Regions from separate parts of the Homo sapiens genome. Here regions 1, 2 and 4 are each linked to region 3. Evidence: promoter capture Hi-C in 16 types of primary human blood cells and fetal thymus (Javierre and others, 2016). All regions are on one chromosome and are shown on one strand. Each heading gives the region's core, a stretch centred on a gene start or on the middle of the fragment in contact. The rest is flanking DNA. Distances are from core to core; before and after follow the strand shown.

What was found. The method cuts DNA at HindIII sites, captures the fragments that hold promoters and counts their contacts. A CHiCAGO score of 5 or more calls a contact.
Region 1: a fragment that was not itself captured here is called in contact with the fragment with the promoter of IER5L in region 3 in 5 of 17 cell types (M1 macrophages, total CD8 T cells, monocytes and 2 more); the score reaches 6.9 in M1 macrophages.
Region 2: a contact is called between a fragment that was not itself captured here and the fragment with the promoter of IER5L in region 3, in 3 of 17 cell types (M1 macrophages, M0 macrophages and total CD8 T cells). The highest score is 8.8, in M1 macrophages.
Region 4: a fragment that was not itself captured here is called in contact with the fragment with the promoter of IER5L in region 3 in 3 of 17 cell types (endothelial precursors, M2 macrophages and non-activated CD4 T cells); the score reaches 5.8 in endothelial precursors.

Annotation. Positions count from the first base shown.
Region 1 is chr9:129,437,587-129,442,911 of GRCh38, reverse strand. It overlaps LOC105376291 (a long non-coding RNA gene), which reads right to left. Exons shown (of 3, transcript NR_188645.1): 1 at 4,253-5,325; 2 at 4,033-4,149. Among named protein-coding and RNA genes, the nearest start is that of LINC00963, 48 kb to the left of the region's middle. The HindIII fragment of the contact is 4,506 bases long and covers 694-5,199 here.
Region 2 is chr9:129,464,796-129,469,971 of GRCh38, reverse strand. No RefSeq gene overlaps it. Among named protein-coding and RNA genes, the nearest start is that of LINC00963, 21 kb to the left of the region's middle. RefSeq lists enhancers at 1-420, 421-1,232. The HindIII fragment of the contact is 4,085 bases long and covers 1-3,708 here.
Region 3 is chr9:129,175,101-129,180,386 of GRCh38, reverse strand. IER5L (immediate early response 5 like) reads left to right here and starts at 2,126. Exons shown (of 1, transcript NM_203434.3): 1 at 2,126-4,835. The coding sequence starts at 2,335. The coding sequence ends at 3,549. RefSeq lists enhancers at 318-1,241, 1,242-2,165, 1,903-2,197, 4,572-4,631, 4,561-5,282 and silencers at 1,922-2,301, 2,532-2,871, 3,822-3,971, 4,312-4,361, 4,935-5,034. The HindIII fragment of the contact is 12,631 bases long and covers 1-5,286 here.
Region 4 is chr9:129,522,162-129,527,075 of GRCh38, reverse strand. No RefSeq gene overlaps it. Among named protein-coding and RNA genes, the nearest start is that of LINC00963, 36 kb to the right of the region's middle. RefSeq lists an enhancer at 1,526-2,026. The HindIII fragment of the contact is 1,927 bases long and covers 771-2,697 here.

The DNA.
Region 1 (5,325 bases), core at 1,697-4,196, 260 kb before region 3:
GTCACAAAGTCCTGGGTGGCTGAAACACAGAAACACATTGTTTCACAGTTTGGGAGGCTGGGAATCCAAGATCAAGGTGTCAGCAGGTTGGTTCCTCATGAGCGCCGTAGGGAAGGATCTGTTCCAGGCCTCCCACGTTGGTTTATGGATGGTTGATTTCTCCCCGGGGTCTCCATGTCATCTTCCCTCTGAACATGTCTGGGTCAAATCGCCTCTTTTTTTTTTTTTTTTTTTTTTTTGAGACAGAGTTTCATTCTTGTTGCCCAGGCTGGAGTGCAATGGTGCGATCTCGGCTCACTGCAACCTCCACCTTCTGGGTTCAAGTGATTCTCCTGCTTCAGCCTCCTGAGTGGCTGGAATTACAGGCGCAGGCCACCACGCCCAGCTAATTTTTTTTTTTTTTTGTATTTTTAGTAGAGACGGAGTTTCATCATGTTGACCAGGCTGGTGTCGAACTCCTGACCTCAGGTGATCCACCTGCCTCGGCCTCCCAAAGTGCTGGGATTACAGGCGTGAGCCACTGTGCCCAGCCTTTTTTTTTTTTTTTTTTTGAGACAGGGTCTTACTCTGTCACCCAGGCTGGAGTGCAGTGGCAAAATCATAGCTCACTGCAGCCTCGAACTCCTGAACTCAGGTAATCCTCCCACCTCAGTTTCCCAAGTAGCTAGGACTACAGGTGTAGCTTTTAAAGCTTCTGCTGGCCACTGATGTGTGGTCACTTCTGCTCACATTTCACTGGCCAGAGTAAGTCACATGGCCAAGCCTCGTCAGAGGGCGTGGAAGGACGTTCTGGGGACAGGATGGTATAACCTGCTTAGGAGAAGGAATTGCTGGGCACAACGGCACCATCTATCATCCGGCTGGCACTGGTTAAGGCTTACGTGTGTGGGGCTTTGTGCCAGCAGCTTCACACCCTTAGCTCATTGACTCCTCATGTAGCCCCATTTTATAGGTAAGAAAACTGAGGCTTTGAGAGGGAGAGAGACTTGCTCATCGATCATAAACAAGATTAACTGACAGACTGAGAAAATCCTGAAGGTCTACATGCTTCTCAGGTCTTGCCCCGTTCCATCTTCTTGAGGCCAGGGTGAGAAAATCCTTGGCCTAGGATGTAGCCCACGCGGAACACTCACAAATGGTAGTGGAGTTAAAGATCTGAGTTGAGGCCAGGCGCGGTGGCTCACGCCTGTAATCCCAGCACTTTGGGAGGCCGAGGCAGGTGGATTACCTGAGGTCAGGAGTTCGAGACCAGCCTGGCCAACACGGCAAAACCCTGTCTTAACTAAAAATACAAAAATTAGCCAGGCATGGTGGTGCATGTCTGTAATCCCAGGTACATGGAAAGCTGAGGCAGGAGAATCGCTTGAACCTGGGAGGCGGAGGTTGCGGTGAGTTGAGATCGCGCCAATTGCACTTCAGCCTGGGAGAAACTCCGTCTCAAAAAAAAAAGATCCTAGTTGGGTGTGGGGGCGTCTTGAGCCAGCAATGCAGCTGCACATCCCACCAGGGTGCCGGAAGAGCTTGCTCTGGGGGAGCCCACACCCCACCTTTCAGCTCAGCTCTGCCTCCACCGTGCCTGCAAATCTAGGTGCTCCCCAGAGTGCACAGGGTCAAGGGAGGGCAGGGGTTTACAGAAGTAAATCCAACTCCTCCTGGAGGAAAGGGAGAGAAGGAGCCTTGTGCATCCCAGGACCCTGTGACCCTGTGATCACTCCTTTGCGGCTGAATCTCCCAGGCTCTAAGTGCCTCTGGGGGGTTATGAATTTCTTGTCTGCTTGTTTGTTTCAGCAGGGGTGGGCAGGGGGCAGAAAAACCTTATGTTCTTTTTATTATGCTCCTCATTTTACAGATAGAGAAACTGAGGCCCAGGGAGGTTAAAGCCACTTCCCACAGCAAGGGCTGATGATAGATCCAGGACTCAAGTGCAGCTGGGGCGGGCGCTGGGAGGACTGGGCACTGAGGCCCCAGGTGAGCCTGTATTAAGGAGGCTGAGGGTGGGGCTGGATGGGAAAGTGGTGGTGCGGACGGGGTTGGGGGGTGGGCGCTTCTCCCCCCAGGCCACCCAGGTCTCAGAAGGACAGAGGGGGCAAGACAGTGATTCTTGGAGAGATGGATTTAGTCTAGGGGGTCCCAGATAGTGAGAAAGAGAGAACCAGGCAGGGGCCCGGGCCCACGTGCAAGGGACAGTGTGAGAAGGAAACACACACACACACATCCCACCACAGACTTTTTCTGGTTTTGACACCCAACTCAGAGAAGGTCTTTTTACATTCAGATTTCTGAAAATGTCGTTAGAAACAATAATGACGATGGCAAGCCTTCCCTGAGACCTCACAGCATTTCAGGAAACTCGCTGAAAGGCTTTGCCTGGACTCCCTCATGGAGCCCTCACAGCTGCCCTGTGAGGTGGGTGCCATTACTGTCCTCTTATTATAGATTGGGAAACGGAGGCTCCGAGGTGCCAGAGCTTGCAAACCGATGGAGGTTGGCCAGACTTCATGAGCCACACTCTGAATATTCCCTTTGAGGCACAAACAACAGAATCAAGAAGGAGGCCACGCGCGGAGGCTCACACCTGTCATCCCAGCACTTTGGGAGCCGAGGTGGGTGGATCACTTGAGGCCAGGAGTTTGAGGCCAGCCTGGCCAACATGGCGAAATCCCATCTCTCCTAAAAATACAAAAATTATCTGGCTGTGCTGGTGCACACCTGTAGTCCCAGCTACTTGGGAGGCTGAGGCCGGATAATCGCTTGAACCTGGGAGGTGAAGGGTGCAGTGAGCCGAGATCACACCACTACACATCAGCCTGGGTTAACAAAGCAAGACTCTGTCTCAAAAAAAAAAAAGAAAAAAAAGAAAGAAAGAGAGAGAGAGAGAAAGAAAAAGAGAGAAAGAAAGAAAGAAAGAAAGAAAGAAGGAAAGAAAGAAAGAAAAGAAAGAAAGAAGAAAGAAAGAAAAGGAAAAGAAAAGAAAAGGGAGGGAGGGAGGGAGGGAGGAAGGAAGGAAGGAAGGAAGGAAGGAAGGAAGGAAGGAAGGAAGGAATCAAGAAGGAAAGCCCTGCCTGCCTTGCCACAAAGCTCTAGGCCTCCCACCCTCCTCCCTGCTGAGTCAGGTGCCCACTGTGGACTCGAGGCTTTGGGTTCCGCCAAGATGGCCAGATAGGGACTTCTATGCTGGTTTCCCTGACGCCATTTCCCTCCCAGCCCTGGCTTTCCAGAGCCCTAAACTGCCTTTCCCTATGAAAGGGGATAGAGCTTCCCACAGCCACCCGTGCCTCTCTGTGACTATCAGAACAGGGGCCCCACTGACACCAATAATGATGCCTGCTGTATGAGGCCAGCCTGTTCTCTGCAGCCCTGAGGTCAGAGGACAAAACGAGACACAACCTATGTGCCCATCCTCTGGGGATTGGATAACCACATACAGGTACATGTGCACAATGGAATACTACGCAGCCAGGAAAAATAATGAGGTGCAATAAATTGCCAAACAGGACATATAATATTGACTGGCATTTTTAGGGAAGCGTGGTGGCTTCCACCTGTAATCCCAGCACTTTGGGAGGCCAAGGTGGTAGAACCACTTGCACCCAGGAGTTTGACACCAGCCTGGGCAACATAGTGAGACTCTATATCTAGAAGAAATAAAAAATTCGCCGGGTTTGGTGGCCTGTGCCTGTAGTCCCAGCTGCTCGGGAGGCTGAGGTGGGAGGATGGCTTGAGCTGTGATCATGCAACTGCACTCCAGCCTGGGCAAGAGAGCAAGACCCTATCTCACACAAAAAAAAGTTTCTATAAGTATCTGTATTGACAGAAAAACTCCAACCCTGAATGTGCTAATTACCCTGATTTGACCAATACACATTGTATATGTGTACTAAAATATTACACTGCATCCCATAAATATGTACAATTATTATGTGCCAATTAAAAATAATAATACAAGCCAAAAAATAGGACGCTGCACTAGAGGCTGAGGTTACGTGGATGAATAAGGCACGTGGAAAAAACAACAACAACAACAACAACAACCTCACTTCAGGCAAAAGTAGGAGGCTTCCTCAACACAGCCCGGGGTTCTTTCCTCCGCTCCTGCTGTCTCGCTTCCTCCTTGGCATGGGCGCTACACGGTGTCTCGGCGCCACTCCCCTAAGTTAGGAACAAGCGAATTCCGAGATGAACGGTGCAGTCCTGGCCTCGAGGGGCCCTACGGAGTGGGGCAGGTGGGCACATAAATAAAAAACATCATCACCTGAATGGCGTGAACCCGGGAGGCAGAGCTTGCAGTGAGCCGAGATCGCGCCACTGCACTCCAGCCTGGGCGACAGAGCGAGACTCCGTCTCAAAACAAACAAACAAACAAACAAACCATCATCACAATGACCGGGGGTGGGGGCTTCTCCAAGTGCTTGATGCTCTGCCAAGGAATTCACTGGCATTAACTCGGGGACCCCTGACCATAAGTGAGTTTTCTCATTTTACCAGTGAGGGAACCGAGTCTCAGTTAGTGCCCTGGGGAGCAGATTCCGTCTTGCCCTGGGGGTCTGGGCCTCAACTCCGGAGCCTTTTCCGGGAGAGAATCCTCTAGCCGCTGAGCTAGCGGCTAATCACCCCCCAAAAGCAACAGAGACAAAAGGCAAGGAAAGGGGTTGCACAGAGGGTGGAGGCAGGACAGGTCCCGGTGGCTGAGCCGCCTCCCCCCACCTCGTGCCTAACCACGCACAAGTGGATTTGGTCCTGGAAGCACACACCCCCTCCGGAGGTGCCATGGGCTCCATCTGAAGGTCAGAGAGGGGACAGTGGCCAAGGCCATCTGGAAAGTGCCGCGGCAAGGGTTCAAACCCTGTCGGCCTGATTGCAAAGGCCCTGTCGCCCAGCGTGGGACCCAGCAACCGGCGCTGTCCAGAGACCCCGGTCCTTGGCCCCTGCACAGGCTTGGCACGGAACACGTGCTGGATACGCAGTCAGCCTCCTTCCTTGTCCTCCTTCCGCCATCATGTGACCTTGGTCCCACCGTTCTCTGTTTCCAGGCCTCAGTTTCCCCATCTGCAGAGAGAGGGGGTTGTCCTAGGGGTGCCCTGGCTCCCCTGGAAGCCTCCAGTACCTTAGATTTCCACTGGGGAAGCCAGGAAGGGCAGGTAGGGCCCCCTGGGGCTGGAGCAAATTTGGGGTTCAGGGCTGTTTTCTGGGGTGAAAGCTTGGAGCCCGAGGAGAGCCCCGCGGACGGCCCCAAATTCCCCAAGCCAGCAGCCCCGCTTAACCTTCCCCCCTCTGCCACCCAGAGCCCCGCTGGACCAGACTCGGGCCCCCACCCCGGAATCGCCC
Region 2 (5,176 bases), core at 417-2,916, 290 kb before region 3:
GGTGCTTCACACACAGTGCGGCGAGGCTGAGACCACGTTCTCAGGGGAGGAGAGTGGCTCTGGGCCTCGCGACCTCACACCCTCCCTGTAGGTACCGAGCTACGCATCCCCGCCTGGGTGCAGCTTGTGTTGGAAAAGAGTCCCTGCCATCCAGAAGCCCCAGAGCCCCGCCCACCCTACTCTGGTTGCAGACCCTTCCAGCATCTTTGGCAGCCTCGCCACCCCTGGGCACAGCAGGAGCAACCCCAGTGCCCAGGGATGAAGCACCTACCGTGTATCAGGCCCTCCTGGAGCCCCAGCTCACTGACCCTAACAGTGACCTCCTGGGGCAGTCCTGTTTTTATCCCCACTTGATGGGTGGGAAAACAGGCTCAGAGGGGCCAGGTCACCAAGTGTCACAGCTCCCAGGAGCACGTCACAATTGCATGGGGAAGGGGGAGGGGTTGCTAAATGCCCATTCCTGGCATTCCTGGGCCCCTCCGCATCAGCAGAACGAGTCTCTGGACCGGCTGGGAAGCTGCAGTTTTCCTCAGGTGCACTGCTCACGGGAGTTTCATGTAACCTGTGGTCCGTGGAGGCACAGAGAAGAAAGGGTCAGGGCCAGGGTCCCTCAGCAGGGAAGGGCCAGGGCCAGGACGTTGGCCTCCAGGCTGGAGGGCTTGGCACATCTCAACAGCCAGTGGCTGTGTCCCCATGCCAGGATCTGTCCCCTGGTTCCTCTTCCTTACCGACAGGAAAGGACACATGGCTGCACTCAGGCAGTCTAGACATGTGTGCACGTGTGCACATACATTCGACACAGTGTCATGCCGGTGCACACTGTCCACACACACACACACACAGGTACACTGTGCACACACATTCGACACAGTGTCACGCCGGTGCACACTGTCCACACACACACACACAGGTACACGGTGCACACTGTCCACACACACACACACGTACACTGTGCACACTAGACACAGTGTCACGCCGGTGCACACTGTCCACATGCACACACACAGGTACACTGTGCACACACATTTGACACAGTGTCACGCTGGTGCACACTGTCCACACACACACACACAGGTACACTGTGCACACTGTCCACATGCACACACAGGTACACTGTGCACACTAGACACAGTGTCACGCCGGTGCACACTGTCCACATGCACACACACAGGTACACTGTGCACACACATTCGACACAGTGTCACGCCGGTGCACACTGTCCACACACACACACAGGTACACGGTGCACACTGTCCACACACACACACACAGGTACACGGTGCACACTAGACACAGTGTCACGCCGGTGCACACTGTCCACATGCACACACACAGGTACACTGTGCACACACATTCGACACAGTGTCACGCCGGTGCACACTGTCCACACGCACACACACAGGTACACTCTGCACACATGCAGAAACACTGTACACACTTGCACACAGTTGTACACTGTGCACACACCTACACGAGACACACATGCACACTTGCACACATATGCACTCCCCACCTGCACACATGATGCACACTGCACACACACATGCACACATATGTTCACACATACACACACCCACACCTGCACATGTGCCACTGGTGTTGCATTCTGTGACCACCCACTGGCTGCAAAGTCAGAGCCTTCTCCGACCCTAAGGCAGCGGCTGCCAATTTATGTGCTCCTTCACTCAGGCACCTGACAACAATGCACACAGGCGAGCAAGAGAGGCCAGCACCTGCCCTCAGGGAGCTTCCTGTAGGGCAGCCCCAAGTAGTTCAGGTTTCAGAAGCGTTTTGAAGACTGCAATGATGGAGGGAAGGCAGAGCATGCGGCCTGGGCCAGATCCTTCCTGGGAGAGGTGACGTCCAAGCTGAGATCTGAAGGTAGGGGCAGCCCTGGGAAGAGCTGGGGACACCTAAGTGGCAGGAGTGGCAAGTGCAAGGCTGGAGGAGAGGAAGGGGCGGAACTGTGGGAAATAGAAGGAGACCAGGGGCTGCGAGGAGGAGCAGGTCAGTGCTGGGAGATGACCTCGGTGGAGCCTTGGGTGGGGCCGGTGCCTGGACACGCGGGGCCTGACGCAAGCCCAGTGCATCTTTAAAGGGTCCCTAGGCTTCCCTGGGGCTGCACTGAGGAGGTGGGAGGGAAGAAGGAGGCAGGACGCCCAGGGAGGCTGGTGTCCTGGGAGAGATGGTCCAGCTGTACTTGGGGGTGGCTGGGGGGAGAGGGGGGACAGATTTGGTGGCAGAGGGAGCAGGACTTGATTATGACTGAGTATGGGGGGAGGGAGTCATGGAGGACCCCACATTTTGGGAGCTTAACTTTTCAGCACTTGGAACCAAGGAGCGGGTGAGGTGAGGAGGGCAGGGGGTTGGGGTGAGGAACCAGCCATAGGCTGGGCACCCCCAGGACTGCTGTTCCACTTCTCTTCTACAAACTCTCCTGGGGCCTGTGGGCTCTGACCGCTGCCACCCCCCACCCCCTCATTCTCCTGTGTCCGATCAAGGCCCCGTGCAGTGTTTGCTCAGCTGCCAGGCCCTCTGGGGCGGGTGGCTGAGTCTGTCCATCTGCATCTACCCGTCTCAGAGACGAGGAAACCTAAGGAACAAGAATGGGGGGCTGAGAGAAACCCCCACCACCCAGGGCAAGGCCCTCCTCCTCTGCGGAGCTTGGGATGCCTCATCCGGGAAGTGGGAAGTCCAGGCCGAGGCTTCTGTCCTCTGCTGGCTGCAGGCAGGGACCCCATGTCCTGGGACTTGGCCCCAGGACTGCCAGCTGTCTACCCATGAGGCCTCCACCTGCCACAGACCTGTGGGTTTCCATCCAGTGCAGCTCCCCGCTGCAGCCTAAGAAGGGCAGTTCTAGGGGCAGGACTGTACTGAGGAACCCAGCAGAGCTGTGGGGACTCAGGGCCATGGAGAGTCCCCCTACCCACTTCTCTTCTATGGGCTGCCTCAGAGATGGCCCCCCATCCAGCCCATGGCCCACCCTCTTTGACCCTCACTTTCTTGTCCTGTCAGATCTACCCTCTATACCTTCTTTTTATTTTTATTTTTTTTTTTTTTGAGACAGGGTTTCACTCTGTCACCCAGGCTGGAGTGAGTGCAGTGGCACCATCACAGGTCCCTACAGCCTCAACCCCCTGGGCTCAAGCGTTCCTCCCATCTCAGCCTCCCAGGTAGCTGGGACTACAGGACCACATCACCATACCTGGCTAATTTTTGTATTTTTTGTAGAGACAGGGTTTTGCTATGTTGCCCAGGCTGGTCTTGAACTCCTGGGCTCAAGCAATCCTCCTGCCTCAGCCTCCCAAAATGCTGGGATTATAGGCGTGAGCCACTGCGTCTGGCCTACATCTTTTTAATCACTTCCCTTCCCCGACTTTTGCCGCCCTGGTCCAGACCCCCATTATCATCCAGATGTCTGCAGCAGCCACCTTGGTGGCCTCCCTGCTTCTGCTCTGCCCTGCAATCCTTCTTCCAAAGGATAGCCAGAGCAGTCTTTCTGGAAGGTGCTTCTGAATATGTTACTTCCTGCCTAAAACTTTCCATGGCTCCCCATGACCCCTCCCACCCCGTGGGATATTGAAACGAACATGCCTGCAAGCCGTGTTCTAATGAGTCCTGTTCCTCTCGCCCCAGGCCTTTGCGCACACTGCGTGCCCCTTGCCAGAGCATCCCACACCCTCAGCCTGGTTGACTCCTATTCAAGCTTTGGGTCTCAGGTTAGACCTGCTCTTCTAGAAGCCTTTTGTGCTCCCTCCCCCTAACAATAGGCAAGGTCAGGGGCTGCCTCCAGCCTCCCATAGACCCTGGTGCCCCCATTATACCCCTGACCACACTGGGCCCGTCTTCGCCTCTGGTGCCTCTCCATGCCTGGCACACAGTAGGTGCTCAGGAAGGAATTGTGGATATCGCCTTCCCTCCAGGGAAGGGCGGGGGGATTGCTGAAAAACAAGACCTGCTCAGACCTCCCGGCTACATGTGGAGGGCAGAGAAGGAGGGGCCCTGGAGCTCACACCAGAGACACAGCTCCTGCGTGGGCAGGACCTACATTCCTGACTCGGGAAGCCATTGAATAATAATTGTCATAGCAAATGGAATTCCTCATCTATATGTTCCCAACACAGTTCCATGAACGATCTTGATCCATCACCACCAAGGGAGGAGGTGCCTGGAGGGCACTGCCCACAGAACCCCACGCCCTGTGCTGAGAGCTGCACCTGCTCAGGCTCATTCTGTGCCCTTATCACCCCCACTTTACAGAGGAGAAAACCGAGGCTCTGCGGGTGGGTGACTCGCCCCAGGCCGCTGAGTCACAGTGCGGCTGGGATGGGAATCCAGGCACTAGCCCAGGCCTCTGGCTGCCCACGTCACTGCCCACCACCTGGCCGGCTTTGGGCGCTCCACCTAGACTCTCCGGCCTCAGTTGTTATTCTGTAAAGCGGACATCTGAATAATAATTAAGATTTGTGAAATCAGCTGCTCAAAAGTGCCTGGCAGGTTAGTGTGATGGCAGGCAGTTTTCAGAAGAGGAGGTTCAGAGAGGGGCAGCGAGATGGCCGTGGTCACAGAGCATGGGCATTTGGGTCAGCCTCTGAGGGGGTGGAATTTGGTGAGATCTCTGTTAAGCTTCTCTCTGAAATCACAGGCGTGGGGCTGGCCACGTGGGTGGGCCGGTTCAGCCATGTCATTGGAGAGAGTCCAAGAGGCTCAGTGGTGTCAGGGCTGTGGCTTTGACGGGAGGGGAGGGTGCATGGCCACTCTGCTGGTGAAGGGAGCTTGGAAGGGGGCCATGGAGACCCCAGCCACTCCGAGGCCAGAACCCTCCTTCTTGGCAAACGCTACTGGGTCTCAACCTAGCGCTTTATCCTCCTCCCCTGGCACAAATCTGGGAGGCGCTGGTGTGAGCCTCAGCTGCAGGAAACGAATCTAGAGCATCTGCAGCCTGGCCCAGCCCTGTGAGATGAGCTGGGATGGGACCCCAAGGTGGGCTCTGGGCTGGTCCTGCCATGTCACCTGGCCCAGTCATGCCCCTCTCTGGCATGGAGTGGGAGCTGGCCAAGCCCCTCCTGGCCTGGTCCCTGTGGGAATCTTAGTTCAACCCCATCCCACCTTGCTGGCTCCGGTGGGGGATGGGATTGTCTGTAAGGCAATAAGGGCAGCTGGTTCTGGGGCTTCA
Region 3 (5,286 bases), core at 877-3,376:
CCAGCTAATTTTTTGTGATTTTTAGTAGAGACAGGGTTTCACTGTGTTAGCCAGGAAGCTCTTGATCTCCTGACCTCGTGATCTGTCCGCCTCGGCCTCCCGAAGTGCTGGGATTACAGGCGTGAGCCACCGCGCCCGGCCATAAATAAAGTCTTTGTGTGCCTTTAAGACAGGCACCAGGGAAGTGAAGGGCAGTGTATTTTTACTTCTACGTGTTATCACCTGAGCAAGTTCCACAGCCTGTAGGTCTGTATCACCAATAAAATGTAGGTAGGACATCCTTTATCTGAAGTCCCCTGAAATTTCAATCCTGGCTTCTCTGGGAGGAGGCCTGGAGAGGTGCTATTGGTCACAGGGGCCCAAAGCGTTTGAGATTGTTCGAGGGGGCCAAGGGAAGGACACAGCACCAGCCCTGGGGCCATGTGATCTTGGGCAAGTCTCACGCTGTCAGTGTCCGAGTTTCCTCATCGGAAAAATGAAGTAAACACCCGCTAACTCTGTCTTCACTCTCAACGCCTGGCATGGAGTAGATGCTAAGAAACTTTTGCAGAAATCTTGGAAATTCTTAAGACTAAAGAAAGACCCAGAGACCACAGGGTGGGCTACTGGGTCTCTCCACTCCCACCAAGGGATGAAGTAGGTGCTGAGAACTCAGAAGGAAGCCCCAAAAAGCAGAGACTCAGAAGATCCCCTGAGGAGGCGGTGAAGCAGCAGGACGTCTGGTCATGGGCCTCCCCCCTGAGTCCAGCCCCACAAGGTCCACCTATCTCTGGGAGACTCTGCAGACCTCGTTCATCCTTCAGGGATCCACTCATGGACCCTCCTCAGGCAAACCTCCAGACCATTTCCAAGAGCCTCCAGAGCTGTCTGGGCAGCCCCCACCCCAGGCACCTTTGAAACCCCTGGGAGCAGCAACCAGCCCCCTTCAGGCCTCTTGGTCCAGATAGAGCGCCCCCAGGAATCAGCAATCCTGTCCCTCTCTTCTCCCACTGTCTCAGTCCCCAGCTGGGACCTGAAGGGTTCAGGATAAGAAGGAAAGCTGTGTCAACAGAAGTTAAGTCGGTGAGTCCCCGGGCCTTTGGTATTCACCTCCCGTCTCGAGCGCAGGGTCCTGTCCCAGCTCCTAGCTCCGCCCCCTGGGAACTGTGTGGTTCCCCAAGTCACTCCACTCCTCCGAGCCTCAGGCCCCTCCTCTACAAACGTTAGAGTGAGGCATTGGGGAGTTGCTGGGAAGGGCCTGCCCCATATTAGGCCCATAATAATAGTCCCTATTGTCATTATTATTAGTTAGGCACGAAAGGAAAGGTTACAGAGCTGGTGATTAGGGCACTCAGCGTTTCGGCTCCCAGGACGCTTTTGAGCCTCAGCTGGTCGCGAGGTCCACACACTCCCTGGGTCATGCCTGGCCTCGGAACTCTCTCCATCAGAGAAGGTCAAAATTCACGATGTTTTGGTTTTTCCTGTCAGACAAATGGGGAGGACTTCCCTTCCGCAAGCATTCCCAGAGGCCCCTCGACCAAAAAGTCAAGGAGTCAGGCCCTACATTCTCTGCGGTAGAGGGTACCCCCAAAACCTCGCTCCTTTGATGTTCCCCAGTGTCAAGCCGGCGGCTCCACCAGCCTCCTGTAGAGAGGCCTTGACTCCCGCGGGTCACTCGGGGGGGCGACAGGTGCGCAGGTGGAGGCGCCGCGCCGCTGGGGGAGCGATGAGCGGCGCGCACCTGCCGCAGGTGAGGCCCAGCCGTGCGGAAAGGGGAGGAGCCGTCGCCGCAGCACTCAGGTGAGCCGACCCCCGGCTCCCGGGACCTAAGGCGAGGGCAGCCGCGGGCTTCAACGTGGCCGCTGCCAGGCGACCTATGCTGCAGACTGCGGCCCCGGCGGCTCCGAGTCCCGCGCGGCGCGGCAGCCCCAGGAGAACATTCGAGGCAGCAGCGGCGTTGGAGGCCCGGGGTCCGTTCGGTATTTGAATAGCACAAAGGAACCGCCTTGGTCTGATTGGCCAGCCGAGTAGCCCCGGGGCGGGCTGCGCCTGTCACTCAGGAGACTCTCAGAGCTCCTATTGGCTCTTCTCATGTGGGGCGGGGCCCGGGCACCCGGCTAAATAGCTGGGGCCGGGGCCGGCCGAGACTCATTGCTTTGGCGCCGTCTGGGGAGCGCGAGCCCGCGGGTGGCGCGCGGCGCATGGTGGCGGCTCCTTTCGGAGCGCAGCCGAACCTCTGACCCGGACTCCGTTACCCCTGCCCGGCGCGCCCCGGCGGCCGGCTGGAGGCAGAAACAGCAGAAGCGTTAACAGCAGCAGCGGCGGCGGCTGCTCCGCCGCCGTCTCCGCGGGAGCATGGAGTGCGCCCTGGACGCCCAGAGCCTGATCAGCATCTCCCTGCGCAAGATCCACAGCTCCCGAACCCAGCGCGGCGGCATCAAGCTGCACAAGAACCTCCTGGTGTCCTACGTGCTCCGCAACGCGCGCCAGCTCTACCTGAGCGAGCGCTACGCCGAGCTCTACCGGCGCCAGCAGCAGCAGCAACAGCAGCAGCCGCCCCACCACCAGCACCAGCACCTAGCGTACGCGGCGCCGGGCATGCCGGCCAGCGCGGCCGACTTCGGCCCGCTCCAACTTGGCGGCGGCGGGGACGCGGAGGCGCGCGAGCCGGCCGCCCGGCACCAGCTGCACCAGCTCCACCAGCTCCACCAGCTGCACCTCCAGCAGCAGCTGCACCAGCACCAGCACCCGGCGCCCAGGGGCTGCGCGGCGGCGGCGGCGGCCGGAGCGCCCGCGGGCGGCGCGGGGGCGCTCTCGGAGCTGCCCGGGTGCGCCGCGCTCCAGCCGCCGCACGGCGCGCCCCACCGCGGGCAGCCCTTGGAGCCTCTGCAGCCGGGTCCTGCGCCGCTGCCGCTGCCGCTGCCGCCGCCCGCGCCCGCTGCGCTCTGCCCGCGGGACCCTCGCGCCCCGGCCGCCTGCTCCGCGCCCCCAGGGGCCGCCCCTCCGGCCGCCGCCGCTTCTCCGCCCGCCTCCCCGGCCCCCGCCTCCTCCCCCGGCTTCTACCGGGGCGCATACCCTACCCCTTCGGACTTCGGCTTGCACTGCAGCAGCCAGACCACCGTGCTGGACCTAGACACTCACGTGGTGACCACGGTGGAGAACGGCTACTTGCACCAGGACTGCTGCGCCTCCGCCCACTGCCCCTGCTGTGGCCAGGGCGCTCCGGGACCGGGCCTGGCGTCCGCCGCCGGCTGCAAGCGCAAGTATTACCCTGGCCAGGAGGAGGAGGAAGACGACGAGGAGGATGCGGGCGGGCTGGGGGCCGAGCCCCCCGGGGGCGCCCCGTTCGCCCCCTGCAAGCGCGCCCGCTTCGAGGACTTCTGCCCGGACTCGTCCCCGGACGCGTCCAACATCTCAAACTTGATCTCCATCTTTGGCTCCGGCTTCTCGGGGCTGGTGAGCCGACAGCCGGACTCCTCGGAGCAGCCGCCGCCGCTCAACGGGCAGCTGTGCGCCAAGCAGGCGCTCGCCAGCCTCGGCGCCTGGACTCGAGCCATTGTCGCCTTCTAGGGACCCCCGAGGGCACAGGGACCCGGGGCCCCGCGGGGCTGGGGCCAGACAAAGACTCGGCAAAGGGGCGAGAGGAGGGAACGAGCGGGCGCCGGGCCACTCGGGGCTGAGCTGGGGGCGAGCGGGGGCAGGCGGCTGATGTTTTATAAATTGTAAAATAAAAAAAAAAGAAATCTAAAATCTTGGACTTTATTTTTGCAGAGAGAAAAAGCGCCTATTTAAGTATGCTTTGTGTTTCTCCTACTCCTTTTTTTCTTTTTATTGTAGTGATTGCAGTGGTGTTTAGCGAGGAGCCTACCACGTGAGGGAGGGCTGCTGCCCGGAGGAGGTGCCGGGCAGCCGGGGGCGAGGCAGGGCGCCCTGGCCGCCGGGGCGCGCCGGGGGCGCAGCTCAGGAGGGCGCCGGACCTGGGAAGCCGATTCCAATCAGTTGTCAGACCCGGGAAGCCCGACGTTCCGCTCTCCCGAGTCCCTCTGTGGGGTGAGGAATGGGTCTTGTGAAATTCTGAGCAAAAACAAAGGCAAACTCTATCTCCGAAAGGGACGTTTGGGTCACATTTCCTCTCTGGGGGCGGACTCCAAAGTTCTCAAAATGAGAAGGCAGAAATGAAAACACTTCAACTTTTTTTTTCTTTTCTTCCCGGGGCGGGTGTCTTGAACCCCTCTTCTCCCCGCCCCTCTGGCTCCGTTCTCCTCCCCTCCTCCACCCGTCTCCCGGACTCGGGGGTGGCGCCTGACACCCCGACACTCTCGGACACTGGGTAAGGGGTGGGGGGCGGGCACGGCGGACTACATTTCCCATCATGCCTAGCACTGCGGTCCTCACTAAACAAAAAAGGAAGTCAATTCCTTCACCTGGATCCCCGGCGGCCCCGGGGGAGGGAGGGGCCGGGACCGCCGACTGCGTTGGAGACTTTGCACTAAGTTCCTGGTCAGCTGTGGTGTTTGTGTGTGTGCTTCTAAGTTGCACTGCCTTGGTTCAGCCTTCGGTTGCATTTCATGAAACCAGCATTGTTCGAGCCTGTGAGAACCCCGTCCTGTGTCTTCAGCTCGATAGATTTGTTTAATTTAAAAGCCTTTTGTTGTAAAAAGGTGGGGTTCGTCTGCAGCCCCTCTGGTTCTCTGCCATCAGCACCGTGTGGACTCCAAAACGAGTTGCCAATCCTTCCTTTCTCGGCCCTTTTCCCTCATTACCCTGTATTTTTGTGCATACTGAATTGTATATCACCGGGTAAAACTGTTCAGATTGTTTAAATTTATAATCTTAATAAAAAGTCGATTACAGAAGATGGTGGTGCCTTGTTTTCAGATGTCTGGGGGCGTCAGAGAGGATAGAGAGGTGTGGGGAGAGACCCCGCCCACCCCCATGTAAACCCCAGTTCTCTTCGGCCTGGGCGGGCGGGATCTACCCACATCCGCAAGGTCGGCGGTGGGAGAATGGGGGGTGATGTTGGTGGCTGGGGATGAAGCGGGTGCTGCGCGTCTCTCGGCCGCCCCCGCTCCAGGGGGGTCCTGTCCCCCACGGGAACTGGCCGCCCCGGGGTCTCCAGCGGGAAGCGGAGCCAGCCTCCAGCACATTTCCTGCCCAGGCACAGGCGCAGGGCCTGGTCGGCCTCGAGTCTGAGCTCTCTGTGGCCGGGGAAAGCAGCCGGGGGACGCCGGGGGTTTCAGGGCCACCCGCACTCCCTGCCCCGCGCCTCTGCCCCGCACGTCCGCATGTCTCGGGCTGCAACTTGGG
Region 4 (4,914 bases), core at 485-2,984, 350 kb before region 3:
ACATCCACCTCCCAGGTTCAAGCGATTCTCTTTCCTCAGCCTCCCGAGTAGCTGGGACTACAGGTGCACACCACTATGCCCAGCGAATTTTTGTATTTTTAGTAGAGATGGGATTTTGCCATTTTGGCCAGGCTGGTCTCGAATTCCTGACCTCAACTGATCCACCTGCCTTTGCCTCCCAAAGTGCTGGGTGTCTTTTTTTTCTTTTTCTTTTTAGACAAGGTCTTGCTCTGTCACCAAGGCTGGAGTGCAGTGGCACGATCATGGCTCACTGCAGGCAGCCTCGACCTCCCAGGCTCAAGTGATCCTCCAACCTCAGCCTCCTGAGTAGCTGGGACCACAGGCATGCATCACCACGCCATGCTAATTTTTGTATTTTTCATAGAAATGGGGTTTTGCCATGTTTCCCAGGCTGGTCTTGAACTCCTGGGCCCGAGTGATCTGCCAACCTCAGCCTCCCAAAGTACTGGGATTACAAGCATGAGCCACTGCACCTGGCCTGTCATTAGTAATTTTAATCATAGCTATTTTATGGTCTCTATCTCCTGGATCTATCATCTGGGGTTCTTGGGGTGTCCACTTGTACTGTTGGTTTTGCAGCTGGATCTCACTTATGGCTACTTTTGTTTTGTAATTTACCTTTGTGAGCTCATCTGCAGGGGCATCTGTTGGTGGGAACCCTGGGCAGCCTGGGTTGAGGTCATAGCCCTCTAGTGCACGTTTGCATTTGTTTCTGCCCCGTGCCAAGGGACCTGTTTTTGTGTTAAGCTTTTGCTTTGGGAGTCCCCAGAGCCTATAAGTAGCAGTCTAAATTTAAATCTCAAACCCCCTGAGGCTAAGCCTATGGTTACAAATTCCCAGAGCAGCCTGCTTTCCCCACTCCAAGCCCAGGATGTGGCAGGTGATCTGCCTGAGTGGAGACTGGTTTTTACCCTTCTCTACCTTTTCACTGAGAATGTAACTCTGGAGAGTCTGGTTTGGGGGTGGGTCTCATTTACAATCCCTTGCTTTGTGGAGCCCAAAGCCTCATTTATTGTCCCCAGAGGGGCTATAAACTCCAATCCCCAGACTGCAGAGACCAACACCCTCCACCTCACCCATGCTGCTCACACCACACCAACATCGGCTGCCTGATTCCTGCTCTAGTTTTCAGCTACTTCTGTGTTTTTGTCGCCCGATTCCTGCTCTAGTTTTCAGCTGCTTCTGTGTTTTTGTCCCTGGGGAGTTCTTTTCCTTTCTTGCAAGCTCAGCCATGCATTTAAAAGGATAGTTGTTATAGTTTGGCCACCATTTCCAAGTAGTATGTTGTAGCAGGAGGGTTTTCTGCTGTCTAGCCTGCAATATGGCTGGAAATGGAAGTCCAGGGTTTTGTTTGGCTATTTTTTGGTTTCCTTAAAAATGCTTTTTGTTACAAAAATTAGCTGGGCGTGGTGGCATGTGCTTGTAGTCCCAGCTACTCAGGAGGCTGAGGCAGGAGACTCACTGGAACCCGGGAGGCAGAGGTTGCTGTGAGCTGAGATTGCACCACTGTACTCTTGCCTGAGCAACAGAGCAAGACTCTGTCTCAAAAAAATAAAAAATAAAAATAAAAATGCTTTTTGCATCTCTGTATTCCCTGCAGCAGACCATCAATAGTGGTCCATGAATATTGGGGAAATGGAATGGAATTGCCCCATTTCTACCTAATTGGCAATTGTGCCAAGCAGTCCTGCTGTTTGGAGCAGGAGTCTTAGAGAACAAAGGACCATATTCATACTCTTGAACCTGGTATTGAAGGCCCACCCTGGCCTGGACCCAACCTGCCTCGGGTCCCATCTCACGGCTGGCCAGTCTCTCTGGCATTCTGCCCTCCAGCCACACACCTGATCAAAGGCTCCGTGCCACCCTGCTTTGAACTTCCTGCTCCCACCGTCTGGCCCAGGCTGAACGTCCACCCACACACATTGCCCACGCGTCCCCTGCAGGCCCTGGCACTTCACTGTGGCTGTTTACTTGCTGTCTTCTCTGCTGCACCAGACTTGCACTCCCTGGGGGCGAGGCCGGCCTCCTCTCCTCTCTGTATCTCCAGCATCCTCACAGTAGCTGCATAAACATCCAAGGCGCTGGAGAGATGTGTGTCTAATGCGCCAACGAGCAAGCCGCATTCCCACTCCACCAGCTCCAAGCACCAACTTTGCACTTTACAACATTAAAGCAGCCGTGGCAGGCCCCTTACTAAACCCAACCTTAACCTCACTCCCCTGTCCCAGATGGTCCCAGATACTGCAGGAGCAGAACTGTCGTCTGGCATTTTAATAGGGAGGTGACAGGTCATTTGGGTTAAAATGGACTCTAATTAGTCCTCGTAAGAGCTCAGCCTGGGGGAGGGTGAGAAGGAGCAGACCTTTGACGAAGTGAGAGAGCCTCACCTGTTTTGACACACTAAAAAAAAGGGCAGAGAATGTTGGGTGATAATGATGTGTCAGTGTGGGTTCTCAACTAACACATCTGGTAGGGACATTGATAATGGGAGGCTATGCATGGTTGGGGCAAGGGACATATGAAATGTCTCAACACCTTCCTCTCAGTTTTGCTGTGAACCTAAAACTGCTCTAAAAAGAAAAAAAAAAAGGGTGGAGGCAGGGGAAGACTTGATCACTGGCTCCTCCCCAGCCCCGCCCCTCTCCCTCTCCGGGGTGGGGTTCTAGAGCCCAAGCTTGGGAGGAGAGATCTGTTTCCACAATGGGAACCAGATGTCTGTCTCCCCAAACCTGTGCCCCCTCAAAAGCAAGAGATGCAAGTTCAGCAACTTTGTCTGTGTGGGTCCCTTGGTGGCCAGGGCAGATGACTGGAAGGAAGGTTACAGTGGCCGGCTCACAGTGAGGTTACAATGCACTTTCCCTCCGTGATAGCTGTCTGACCAAGACACACCGGGAGGAACTCATGGAGACTTAGAGATGAGAAGGGACTTGCTCAAGGTCACAAGGCAAGCGGTGGTGACACAGCGGAGGCCAGGGCTGCACTGTCCTGCACGCAGGGCACTCAAAATGTGGCTAGCCTGAACTGCTGTGTGCCTTGAGTGTGAAATGCACACAAATGCAAAGACTTAGTATGGAAAAAAAAGTAAATATCTCATTAATAATTTTAAATATTAATTACCTGTCAAAGTGATAATATTTTGGATCTATTGGGTTAAATACAAATAGTATGAGAAATAATTCTACCAGTTTCTTTTTTTCTTTTTTTTTGAGACAGGCTGGAGTGAAGTGGCGCAATCTCGGCTCACTGCAACCTCCGCTCACTGCAACCTCCGCTCACTGCAACCTCCGCTCACTGCAACCTCCGTTCACTGCAACCTCTGTTCACTGCAACCTCTGCCTCCTGGGTTCAAGTGATTCTCCTGCCTCAGTCTTCCAAGTAACTGGGGCTATAGGCACACACCACCACGCCCAGCTAATTTTTGTATTTTTTAACACAGATGGGGTTTTTCCATGTTGCCCAGGCTGGTCTCAAACTCCTGGCCTCAAGTGATCTGCCCGTCTTGGCCTCCCAAAGTGCTGGGATTACAGGCGTGAGCCACTGCGCCCGGCCCCAGTTTCTTTTTATTTGGTTTTAATGTAGCTACCGGAACATTTAAAATGGCTTATAGGTCTTGCATTTGTCTAGCGCTCAGGCCAGGTGACTCCTCGGCAGATGTGAGGGCCAAGGGGCCTCTGCCGGCTCCGGATTAGATGCTGTGGGTTCAGGCCTCAGCTCCACCACTTTTGACCTGTCTGACCTTCCTACGACAACAGGCCCCTCCCTGCACTCCAGGCCCCAGTTTTCTCACCCATAAGTGGGCACAGTTGGGCCCCCAGAAAAGCCAAGTAGTCTGAGGTTCAAAGACGGTGCTTAGCCGATCACCCATCCATGAAACGATTCCCCGCGTGATGATTCGCCCAGTCTCTGTCTTCACCATCAGGCTGTGGGGGCCATGAGGGTGGGGCCTTGTGTGATGTCCTCAGTACCTAGCACAGAGCACGTGGCCAAGAATGAATGAATGAATGAGTGAGTGCTTGTTCAGCACCACTCAACCCTGGCTTCCGAATGAAACGGTTCACTTTGGCTGTGAACAGGAGCCATTCTCAATCTATTTTCCACCTTCGCATTTATACCATATCTGTGAGGGGCACTGCCATGTGAGATTTTTTTTATACCTCTGTCCTAATTTGGGGTCCGTTGAAAGCAGAGCCTGCATTAAGGACTTGGGGGCAATGCCAGGAGGAAGGAGAGTGTGGCAGGGGAGGAGGAGAGATGGAGGTGTGTGTGTCTGAGATGGCTGCTGTCTGGGAGGGGAGGCTGGATGCCTCTGGGAATTCTGGAAGCAAACAGAATGCCTCCCAGAATCGTCTTCTGGAAGATTCCAGGTGGGGGTATCTATCTGCTGGTTCCTGCCCTCCACTGCGGAAGTTTGCTCCAGGAACCTTCACCCCCCAAGGCAGGAAGGACCTGTGGGAGGAGGCCCCTGGCCAGCAGGAGGTGGAACCCGTGCTGCAGCCCCGATCAGAGGCGGCCGAGGGGATGTGATGTGGCACAAACAGTGTCTGCCACAGTCTTGAAGTTCACAGACACCAAAAAGCACTCATAATGGCTACAACAAATAGATAAAGATCAGTAGCAGCGGCTGAGGTGGGTGGATCACCTGAGGTCAGGAGTTTGAGACCATCCTGGCCAACATGGTGAAACCCTGTCTCTACTAAAAATGCAAAAATTAGCCCGGTGTGGTGGTAGGTGCCTGTAATCCCAGCTACTTGGGAGGCTGAGACAGAAGAATGGCTGGAACCCAGGAGGCAGAGGCTGCAGTGAGCTGAGATCGTGCCACTGCACTCCAGCCTGGGTGACAGAGCGAGACTTTGTCTCAAAAAAAAAAAAAAATCATAGCAGAACTTAAGGGAT